Linked DNA regions of Homo sapiens: all the other regions are linked to region 2. Evidence: promoter capture Hi-C in 16 types of primary human blood cells and fetal thymus (Javierre and others, 2016). All regions are on one chromosome and are shown on one strand. Each heading gives the region's core, a stretch centred on a gene start or on the middle of the fragment in contact. The rest is flanking DNA. Distances are from core to core; before and after follow the strand shown. Region 1 holds the start of ACBD6 (acyl-CoA binding domain containing 6). Region 2 holds the start of EDEM3 (ER degradation enhancing alpha-mannosidase like protein 3). Region 3 holds the start of TOR1AIP1 (torsin 1A interacting protein 1).

What was found. Contacts are between HindIII fragments. The CHiCAGO score rates a contact against its expected background, and 5 or more counts as called.
Region 1: a contact is called between the fragment with the promoter of ACBD6 here and the fragment with the promoter of EDEM3 in region 2, in 2 of 17 cell types (activated CD4 T cells and non-activated CD4 T cells). The highest score is 5.8, in activated CD4 T cells.
Region 3: the fragment with the promoter of TOR1AIP1 here is called in contact with the fragment with the promoter of EDEM3 in region 2 in 2 of 17 cell types (activated CD4 T cells and non-activated CD4 T cells); the score reaches 9.1 in activated CD4 T cells.

What each region holds. Positions count from the first base shown.
Region 1 is chr1:180,500,983-180,504,149 of GRCh38, reverse strand. It overlaps ACBD6 (acyl-CoA binding domain containing 6), which reads left to right and starts at 1,573. Exons shown (of 8, transcript NM_032360.4): 1 at 1,573-2,105. The coding sequence starts at 1,884. RefSeq lists a silencer at 1,506-1,605 and enhancers at 1,816-2,005, 1,527-2,027, 2,135-2,650, 2,651-3,166. The HindIII fragment of the contact is 1,534 bases long and covers 676-2,209 here.
Region 2 is chr1:184,752,954-184,756,397 of GRCh38, reverse strand. It overlaps EDEM3 (ER degradation enhancing alpha-mannosidase like protein 3), which reads left to right and starts at 1,540. Exons shown (of 20, transcript NM_025191.4): 1 at 1,540-1,909. The coding sequence starts at 1,752. It overlaps LOC105371649 (a long non-coding RNA gene), which reads right to left and starts at 1,224. Exons shown (of 3, transcript XR_922357.4): 1 at 865-1,224. RefSeq lists enhancers at 1,287-1,386, 1,857-1,956. The HindIII fragment of the contact is 1,960 bases long and covers 1-1,906 here.
Region 3 is chr1:179,880,453-179,883,858 of GRCh38, reverse strand. TOR1AIP1 (torsin 1A interacting protein 1) reads right to left here and starts at 1,574. Exons shown (of 10, transcript NM_015602.4): 1 at 882-1,574. The coding sequence starts at 1,356. LOC139427322 reads right to left here and starts at 1,543. Exons shown (of 1, transcript NM_001436163.1): 1 at 1,466-1,543. The coding sequence starts at 1,543. The coding sequence ends at 1,466. RefSeq lists enhancers at 608-707, 1,011-1,305, 868-1,627, 1,132-1,669, 1,648-1,757 and 1 more. The HindIII fragment of the contact is 5,266 bases long and covers 1-2,487 here.

The sequences.
Region 1 (3,167 bases), core at 324-2,823, 4.3 Mb after region 2:
TAAAGATAATGAAAATATTAGCAAACTGAACCTACAAATTTTTTAAAAAAACCAAACCAGGACCAGAATGGGTTTATTCCAAGAACAGAAGTAATGCTCAAAACTAGGAGGTTTTGAAATAATGCATACTAATTTATCAATGTTAGCTATTATATAATTCATTAAATCCCAAATTTATTTTTGTTAATATAATTCATTAAAATAGAAACTGTTAATATAATTCCTTTCGAAGACTAGAGGAGAAAAGCAGATAATCTCCAAAGATGCCAAAAAAGCCGTTGATAATATTCAATTCTCACTTTAATAAAAATTCTAGAAACAAAGATATAAAAGTCCATGTTATATCTCCTTCAGTCTACTTGTCGGGTTCATCATCCATTATTACCCCACATGAAAGCTAACTTCTTTTTCCTTGCTCCTCCATTTGCTAGCTGTGTAGCCTTTGACAAGTTACTTAACCACTCTGTGCTGATTTCCTATGTGTAGTAAAATAAGAGTACCTACCTTATGTTGTAATGATCAAGTCCTCAATACATTATTCTTAATCACTTTTTAATTGCAAGAATTTGGTCATTAAACATCCCTTTGACTGGATTGCGAGCACCTTGACAGCAGGGACTAACAGTGGAACTTTCTGGAGACTTAAGGAATGTCTGTTGAATCCTGATGCAAGCTTTCTCACCTTCCTGTGTTCTCTCATTGCTTCCTCATCCTGTCCAGCCGTCCGTCCACCCGTCGCAAGCCTAACCCCAGTCAATAACCACTGTTTACAACACTTTCTTTGTACCCTTCTTATAGTGCTTATTACATTGTTTTGAATACTAAATGAATATATAGTGCGTCGTTGTGTTTAACATTTAGGACATAACCACTCATAATGTTACAGTTAAAAAAATAGTTTTGTGCATTCCTCTAGGGCCGAACTGTGCCGTACTTCTGGTTTCACTGTACAGTGTCTACAAAGCACAGTGTCAAAGACAGAGCTCGGGATGAGAACTGGGCTAAGGCGCGCCCCGAACTCCCCAAACCCTATTATTCAGGGCCCGGAGAGGTGCGGGCTCCGAAGGTGTGGAGAGCGAAACACGCAGAGCAGTGATTCCACTCATCAGTCACACAGTAAGACGGGACAGCCCCATCTCGCAGTTTTTCATTATTCAACACAGAGCCCAACGCGCACGCAACAGATCCGCGCGCAGGGCTGTTTGGAGGCGCTTGGGGCGCACAATCTGGGGCAGGCGGAACCTTAGTCCTCAGCCTCGCGTTTCCCGCGACTCCGCTCTCACCGCTACACTACCACACAAACGGCCTCCTTCCCCCACCCCCGGGGGCCCATCCCGGTGGCGGGCTCCGGAGCTCGGGACTGCTAATTTCAGCGAAACGATTAAAAGACGCCCCTACAGCTGACGGCACTTTCTCTCCTCCGGCAGGGAAGGACGTCCAGCGTAGCGTCGCCCGCGCTTCCCCGCCGGCGCAGAGCAGGCCTCACAGAATCGCACGCCGCTGGCACGCACGCCGCCCCGCCCCCACGGCCCAGCGCCAGCCGCGCCCCGCGCTCGCACGCATCCCGGCCTCACTGCCCCTCGACTCCTGTTCCGTTGGAGGGGCCTGAGGCGAGCCTGAGCGCGCTGTTGGCCGGAGGGAAGCCGGAGGAGACCGGGTCGACTGGGCAGAGCGGCAGAGGGTCGAGGAGCCTGCTCTGCACGCCCAGGGAGTAGAAGTGGGCAGGGAGCAGGGTCACGTGAGGGAGCGCGCCGCGACTGAGCTTGGGTCCGACTGGAGCTCAGGCTCGCGACCCAGACTGGTGGGCCAGGCCTCCAAGCCGGCCTTACACCCAATCCAAGGAGGACAGACCGGACACAGAGGGACGGAGCGAGCAAGGAGACATGGCTTCATCATTCCTGCCCGCGGGGGCCATCACCGGCGACAGCGGTGGAGAGCTGAGCTCAGGGGACGACTCCGGGGAGGTGGAGTTCCCCCATAGCCCTGAGATCGAGGAGACCAGTTGCCTGGCCGAGCTGTTTGAGAAGGCTGCCGCGCACCTGCAAGGCCTGATTCAGGTGGCCAGCAGGGAGCAGCTCTTGTACCTGTATGCCAGGTACAAACAGGTAAAGTAGCAGGGAGAGGGTGGATGGGGGAGAAAGACACGGAGCCTTCTTCCTCAACAACTGATAGCAAGCATGTATGGTTAATAGCTAGGTGTAATGAAGCTTGTGTATGTGTATTTTGTTTTGTTTTTTTTTTTTTGACCATCTGCTGGGGATGAGCATCATCCTGAACGTGGAAAAGATGTTTGCTTTCTTAGGAGTGATGTTTATTTAGCTGGACACTGGACATTGTTTTTGTGTTTTTTTCTCTGACTTATTCAGTGATCTTGCATTTTACCAGCCCAAGAACCTTTACAAAATGAGGATAAAATAAGATATATCATTCATTTACTCTTTCCCAGAGGGCCACATGGAAGTAAATACGGTAAAGTTAATAAAACTATATAGAGATCCAAAAAGATAATAGGATTGTAATAATGTGATGCAGGGCTGGGCGTGGTTGCTCACGGCTGTAATCCCAGCACTTTGGGAGGCCGAGGCGGGAGGATCACCTGAGGTCGGGAGTTGGAGACCAGCCTGACCAACATGGAGAAACCCCGTCTCTACTAAGTTAGCCGAGCGTGGTGGCGCATGCCTGTAATCCCAGCTACTCGGGAGGCTGAGGAGGCGGAGGTTGCGGTGAGCGAAGATTGTGCGCCATTGCACTCCAGCCTGGGCAACAAGAGCGAAGAAACTCCACCTCAAATAATAATAATAATAATAATGTGATGCAATGCAAAATGCAGTATTACAACTTTTATTGTGATTTTTATAAAATCCTAAATATCTTTGATTTATGTTTTCGTTGAGTATGTCTTCCTTTCTGTTTGATACAATCTAAAAATTTTAGAGCTATGAACACCAGAGGAAATAATGCCCTTCTTTTACAGTAAAGGAAACTGAAGGCCATAGAGAGTAGGCACCTTTCCTAGGGTCATACAAATACATCAGTCAGAACTGGATTGTAGCTCCTGACTCAGTCTAAGGCTGTGAACTTTACCTGGAAATAGGGAGGTGTATAGACACGTTTAATTTATAATTCAGGGTGACATTGGTTGGTACCAGAAGGAAAATAATTGCTTT
Region 2 (3,444 bases), core at 291-2,790:
AGGTAAAATCTATATAATTTGGTAATTAATTGCACGTGGACCCCGAAGGCTAAAGATGAGTTGACAATGATTCCGATGCATTAATTTGAATCAGAAAACATCTTACGTTTGAGCTACCCTTGGGCTAGACATTAGGACATTTCTATTAGGGAGGTGGAAATGTGGGTCTAATGATCAGGACAGATATTGATTTAGAAATCAACCACAGAGATATGTTGGCTGAATCCTTATGAGAAGAAATCACCAAGGAATAATTAGAGTACAGAGAGAAAAAGGACAAAAAGAAAACCTTAAGGGAACACCTGTATTTTAATATAAAGTAGCGAGAGAATGAAGGAAAACGGGTCAGCCAGAGAAGAGGTAAGAGGTTAAGAGGTAAGAGGTAAGGTGATAAAAGTCAAGGAAGAAACGTTTCCAGAAAGACCGCCGAATACTGCTTAAAGGACACGTAAGTAATTTACTGTGGTCACAGAGATCACATCGAAGCTCCTAAACTCCGCACCTATTGAATGACCACACTAGAAAAACAATGTGGTTTTTCAAGAGGAACCGATGTGTCATTTTACCAATAGTTAACCTGGGACTCGGTCATCAAAATTCATTGCAAGTTCCAATCTCCTTCATTAAACCTTCTTTGCAGCCCACACAGCTCTCCTTACATTGAGCTTTTGAGGTAACTATTATTAATCATGTACGAGGACCCACGTGCTCCTTCATCCTTGTAGTACTGCGCGGTGGTTAAATGCAAGGGCTTCCGAATCAGAGGCTGGATGGATTCTAATACAGCAGTGTGACGAGCTCTTGTTAACCAACTTTTCTAAGCCTCTGTTTTCTCGTCTGCAAAAGGGGGATGGTGGTACTTACTCTATCAGAGTTGAGAAGAGTGCATGAGATGATTGCGAGTAAAAACCTTAGCGCAATGCCTTCAAAGGCTCAATTCATTTTGCTGTTACTGTGTTTTGGAATTTCCCTGAGGGTAGACGACTACTCCAACACTATTCCCTAACGCAGCAGCACTGACATGGGGACAGTGCGCCTCATTCAGCCAGCTCTCTGGGAAACAACTTTCTGAGGAAGAGAGATAAACAGCTGACGGGTTTCCCGGGACTCCGCAGCCCACCGAGACAGGGTTGACTGTAGGGCGCCGAGGAAAGGGGGAGGTGGGATCCCAGCAACCACTGGCGACCTCGGAGGACCGCAAGTCCCAGGGTGCAGCGCGCCTACCCCGGGTAGAAGCGAGAGACACGGCTCCGAGTCGGCTCGCGGGAGAGCCGGGGAAGAAGCAGTGCACACTGGGACTGGTAGTCCTCAGGGGGCAACTCCGCGGGTCGGAGGCGGGTCGAAGCGAGAGATCCCTTCCCAGTCCCGCCTTTTGTCCACGTCTCACTTCTCCTGGCCAATGCCCTCTCCAGTCGCCGGAGACAGCCCCTCTCCCATGAGGTCTCCATTGGTCCTGAGGCTCTACGGCTTCGGCCCTACCCGGAAGTAACGTTGGGGAGGCGGTTTCCTAGACTACGACACCGGAAAGCTGGGGGAGGCGCTCCGGGATACTGAGGGCGGAGGGCGGTGGCAGCGCTGGCGCTGGGGACCGGCTTGGTGGCTTCGGGAAACAGTTTGGCGCCGGCGGCCGTCCGTGTTACTCCGCATCCCGCCCCGTCTCGGCACGGCTAGCAGCCCCCTGGCCACCAGCGTCCAGCAATGTGTCTCACCGGCCGGGCGTAGCAGCTGCGCGTGCGCGGAACCGCGGGGCCATGAGCGAAGCCGGCGGCCGGGGCTGTGGGTCCCCGGTTCCCCAGCGAGCGCGATGGAGACTAGTGGCGGCGACGGCCGCGTTCTGCCTGGTGTCGGCCACCTCCGTGTGGACGGCGGGGGCCGAGCCCATGAGTAGGGAGGAGAAACAGAAGCTTGGGTAAGGGTGCTGGCAGCCTGGGGTGGGTTTCTCGGTGAGGCTGACAACAGGAGGGGTGCCTGTCATTGCGACCCGGTCGCGTAGTGGCCTCTCCTGTCGCGATTGGAACGGCTCTTCCCGCGCGAGAACCCTAGAGGGGTGGACAGGGTCCGGGGAGGTGGGAACCGCCGCCCGCGACCTGACCTCGGGGGAGCTGACGGGGTGTCGCCCTGGCCGCCGGTGACATGTGCAGGCTCCTTGAAGCCAGGCGCGGTGTGTCAACGCGGCTGCCATGTCAGTGGCCCAAGAAGGGGGCTACAGCCCGCATCGCTGCGCGCTGGAGTTCTGCGGTTGGCTGCCTGTCGACCGAAGCATGGTTAGCTTTCTCGCGCAAGTGAGCTTCCAACTGGGAAAATGTTGCTGATCTCACAGTAGTTAAGGAAATGATGTTTACACCTGTTACGGAAAAGGGGGCGTTCATTGGAACTTGAACTTTACACATTTTACTATTTCCTTGCAGTGTTTTCTTGCACTGTATTTTCATAATAGAATGTTTGGGGGGAAATTATTCAAAAGTCTCAAGTATACCTATTCAGTAGTTTTTATCCGTCTTGGAAGTGTGTTAAAATTATCAATTCTATTTACACCATTTAATTCAGAGTAATACATACACGAGGTCCTACACATGAATAAGAAAAAAGCGAAGAACCAGTAGGAAATGGGAGAAAGGCATGAACGGTTAAGCCAGAAGAGGAAATGGAAGTGGTAAATAAACATGAAAAGTTACTCAACCTCCATAAACGTAGGAGATGCAGATTAAAACGAGGAGCTAGCTGGTTTTTGCCCATCAGATTAGTAAATATAATACAAAACACAAGGATACGGTTCTGGTTAGTTAAGGAATAGAAAAAAAAGGCTTAGTGAGAGTGTAAATTGCTGTAACTTATTGGTAGTATCTACTAAAATTTAAATTGTGCACACTTTGATTCATCAGTTCTATTTCTGAGAATCTACCCTAAGAAAATAAAAGCACTCTTAATGCAGAGATAGATCCAGCCTGGGCAACAAGAGCGAAACTCTGTCTCGAAAAAAAAAAAAAAAAGTGCATTTTGAAAGAACAGCTCTTCCTTGGAGGAAATGGTTCAATAGGGTACGTTCATATTATGGAATAATATTGAGACATTAAGAAGAAGGAAGTACGTCACTGGAAGCCTATCCAGAATATATTTCCAAAACAAAAAAAAATGCAAGTTGTAGAATAATATGTATAGTATCATCCCATGTTTTTTTTAAAAAAGAAAAAAAAAATCTGAGCTCAGAAAAAAAGTGGAACGAAGATTATCTCATGGGGTTAGGCTGGAGGGGTGGTGGAACCATCAGGTCTTACTTTATGTACTTTAAATCATTGCAAAGAGTCTTGTATTCGTTTCTAAATAGCAATAAAGGTCACTTGATGGAAAAAAGCTGAAGTATCAACCATCAAAATAAAATTACCGGTAAACTCTAATAAATATCTTACATTTTCTCTCATATGAATTTAATGTATCATTGATAAG
Region 3 (3,406 bases), core at 325-2,824, 4.9 Mb after region 2:
TGACTCAGTGTTAGGTCCTAAAATGGGGGGGGCAGGGTGGGAGAGGATAGATTAAGGAAACTGATTCACCTATGACTTACCTAACACTATACACTCACTTTGTCAGCATCCCTTTTGTCCATTTAGACGAAAACTCTAATTAATAGTCTTGTTTTTCAGGTTACTTTGTCAGTCTGATTTGCCAGACTACTTGAGGTTACAGTGACGGCCACCAAAGTGGCAGATTTTTGGCAGGGACCACCACACTGGAGAAACAGCAATCAGCTCAAGTTATCAAACACTGGGGAACATCAGTTCAGGAAAAATGAGTTACCCCATTTCGGTGAAAGTATTGGGTGAGGTCTCAAATCAATTCACTAAACTCAGCAATCCCTCGAAATGCCCACTCACAAAATTTCTCCTTCCTCTCTGCCCACCTGGGTGAGGAGGGAAAAAGACTGAAAGGTTAGATCCTCAGCTGGGGACTCTGGCCCGCGAGCGTTAAAGAAGGAAATGGAAGTGGTTTCTGTAGAAACATCCGCAGGGTAGAGGGAACCGAAATGAAACCGACCCTGCAGTAATTCGCTGTCCCCTCGTGAAGGCCTGCAGAAAAAGGCAGCTCTGACTCCCCTAAATTGATGCCCGATGTTGGGCAGAGCGCCCCAGCCCTGCCCGGGTCGCTCCACACGACCATCTTTCCACTCCTCCGGTCGGCGCTTCCTTCCCCGCTGCGGGTCAGGGTGGCCCTTGCACGGCGGCACAAGTCCAGAGGGGGCTGAGGAATACCCTTTAGCCAATCCCAGTACTTAGTACCCAGGCGGGCATGAGCTCCACCGAGGCGCGCGCCCGCCCCCGCGCGTTCCCTGGCTCGCGGCTGGGACTGTTACCTCCGCGGTCCTCACCTTCAGAGGAATGAGAGTCCCGCAGCCCTCTCCTGGTCATAACAGGAGACGGCTGTAGCGGAGGCTGCTCTGAGTGCTGCTGCTGAAGGCGGGTAGTCCTTCGCGTCTTCATTTCCTCGGTTTCCTGGGGTCGCGGCTGCCTCCGCTGCCTAGACCGAAGGTAGTACGCGCTTTCTCTCACTTCCTCTTTCGCAGAATCGGACCGGAACTCTTCTAGCCGGGTTCGTTTTCCCACCGGGGACCTTTCTTTGGCCACCAGGGGCTCGAAGTCGCCGTACACTTCTGGCGGCTCGTCCGAGAACCTCACTTCCCGCCGGCCCTGGCGCGACGGAGGAGTTCTGTACGCAGGCGCATCGCTGCTGCCGCCATTTTGAGGGGCGAGCCGGCCCCTTCCCTCTCGGATGGGGGCCCTGGGGGTGACGTACACACCCCATCCTTCCCGCACCGCCTCTGCCCGCCGCCCGTCGCCCGCCATAGTTGTTGACGTAGCTTTAGTCGATCGCGAAGATGGCTTTATGGACCCTAGGTTCTCCTGCCGGTGGTGGCGATGGCTTCTCGGGGGTGTTGGGCGGTGGCCGCTGTGGTCAGGGAGGCAGTTGCGAGTCGCTGGGGCCGCCGCCTGCGTCGTCGCTGCTGTGTAGCAAACCTGCCTCTGGGCCCATGGTGTGTCTTGAGGGCTGTGAGAGAGGCAGTGCCTGAGCTGGGTCAGCTGCTGTGGATCGCTCCCGCCTCCTGGCTGGAGGCACCAAAGAGGAGGAGAAGGGGGAGGAGGACGTCTCTGCCATCGCCCTTAAGTAAAGGAGGGGTGGGGGCGATAGAAGGATGGCAGGGCAACTTGCCTGTCCTAAGTCTAGCCGCTCGTGGCAAGTGTTGACTGCGTGTAGGAGACTCCCGTCCTATCTCCCAGTACCAAGTCTCGGGGAAAAGGAGTGCGACGAGGGTGGAGAAGACCCAAGTTTCGCTTCTCGGCCCCAGGCTGTTGCGCAGTTTCCCTGGAATCTTTTTGATCGACTGCTACGTTGACCATGTCCTTCCCAGTGTCCTTAGCAGGAGTGATGGCCAGAGAGAGAACTTTTGCACATGCCATGTTTTCGTGGCAAAAATTTTAGTTTCAAGTACCTTATGAGGGCGGTTACCTAGTTTTGAATTTTGTCACTTGTTGAGGGTGTACAAAATCCTATCTAGAGTCATACTCGTTGGATGTATTTTCTTTTCCGAAATGTACCCATAGGACACATAACCTTATTCCTGGTCTTTAATATTTCTCGGTTTTATACCAAGCAGCAGTGTTCGGAAGACCATGTTAGTGCTACATTGTGCACAGTGAGAAATGAACAAGTTTTTTAATTAAAGACAGCACTGTAATTTTAAGTTGTGATCCATTATTTTTACTTTTATTCTGGATGTGACGTGATACTCTACATTTGATTTAGAATGCTTTATGGACTTTATGGAATAAGAAAGCATGGTAAAATCTATTTGTTTCACCTCCTTATACAAATGTTTACAGATGTGGCTAATCTGCAAATACCTAACCAAATTTAGACACATTCAGAGAAGGTCGATTAAGTTCGTGTAAAGTCTGAATAATTATTGAAAGAAAGCTTAAATTGCCTTCAAATATACAACTGCTTGTAGGGCTTTGTATGATTGGAGTGAATAGATTTAAAAAATTGTAATTTGGATACCAGTTACAATGAGCGATTCTGAAAAGTTTGAAGGTGTTTGTTTATTCTTCCAAGTAATCACCTTAAAATGTTTTTGAGCAACTCATTTGTTGCTCAAACTTGGCACAAATTTCAACTACTTAAGTCGTAATGTGTACTATGTTTTTATTTTATTTTTATTTTTATTTTATTTTTTTTGAGACGGAGTCTTGCTCTGTCACCCAGGCTGGAGTCCAGTGGCGCGATCTCGGCTCACTGCAACCTCTGCCTCCCGGATTCACGCCATTCTCCTGCTTCAGCCTCCCCAGCAGCTGGGACTACAGGCGCATGCCGCCACGCCCGGCTAATTTTTTTGTATTTTTAGTAGAGACAGGGTTTCACCGTGTTAGCCAGGATGGTCTCGATCTCCTGACCTCGTGATCCGCCTCTCGGCCTCCCAAAGTGCTGGGATTACAGGCGTGAGCCACCCTGCCCGACTGTGTACTATGTTTTTACTAATATTGTCCATAAATTTGGCCACAGGCAGGAGGAATTACAGTTTTAGAGTGAGATAAGGTTTGGCCTGTTAGGAGCTTAGTTTACTGTAGCTTTATGTACAATATAGCTTTTAAAAACTGCAGTAACAAAAGAGAGACTTCTTTCTTTCTTTTCTGTCTCTCTTTCTTCTTTCTTCTTGTCTTTTAAGGAAAAATGAAAAGGATACTCTTCCTTGTCAGTCTGGATTAGATGGTATATTTCGGAAATTAGCTAGATTTACTCTTCCAACAAAATGCTCAAAAGTATTGATATGGTAATACGTGGCTTTTATTTATGTTTTAAGCAGGGCTTTCTCTTTAAAGTGGCTATTACATTACTCAT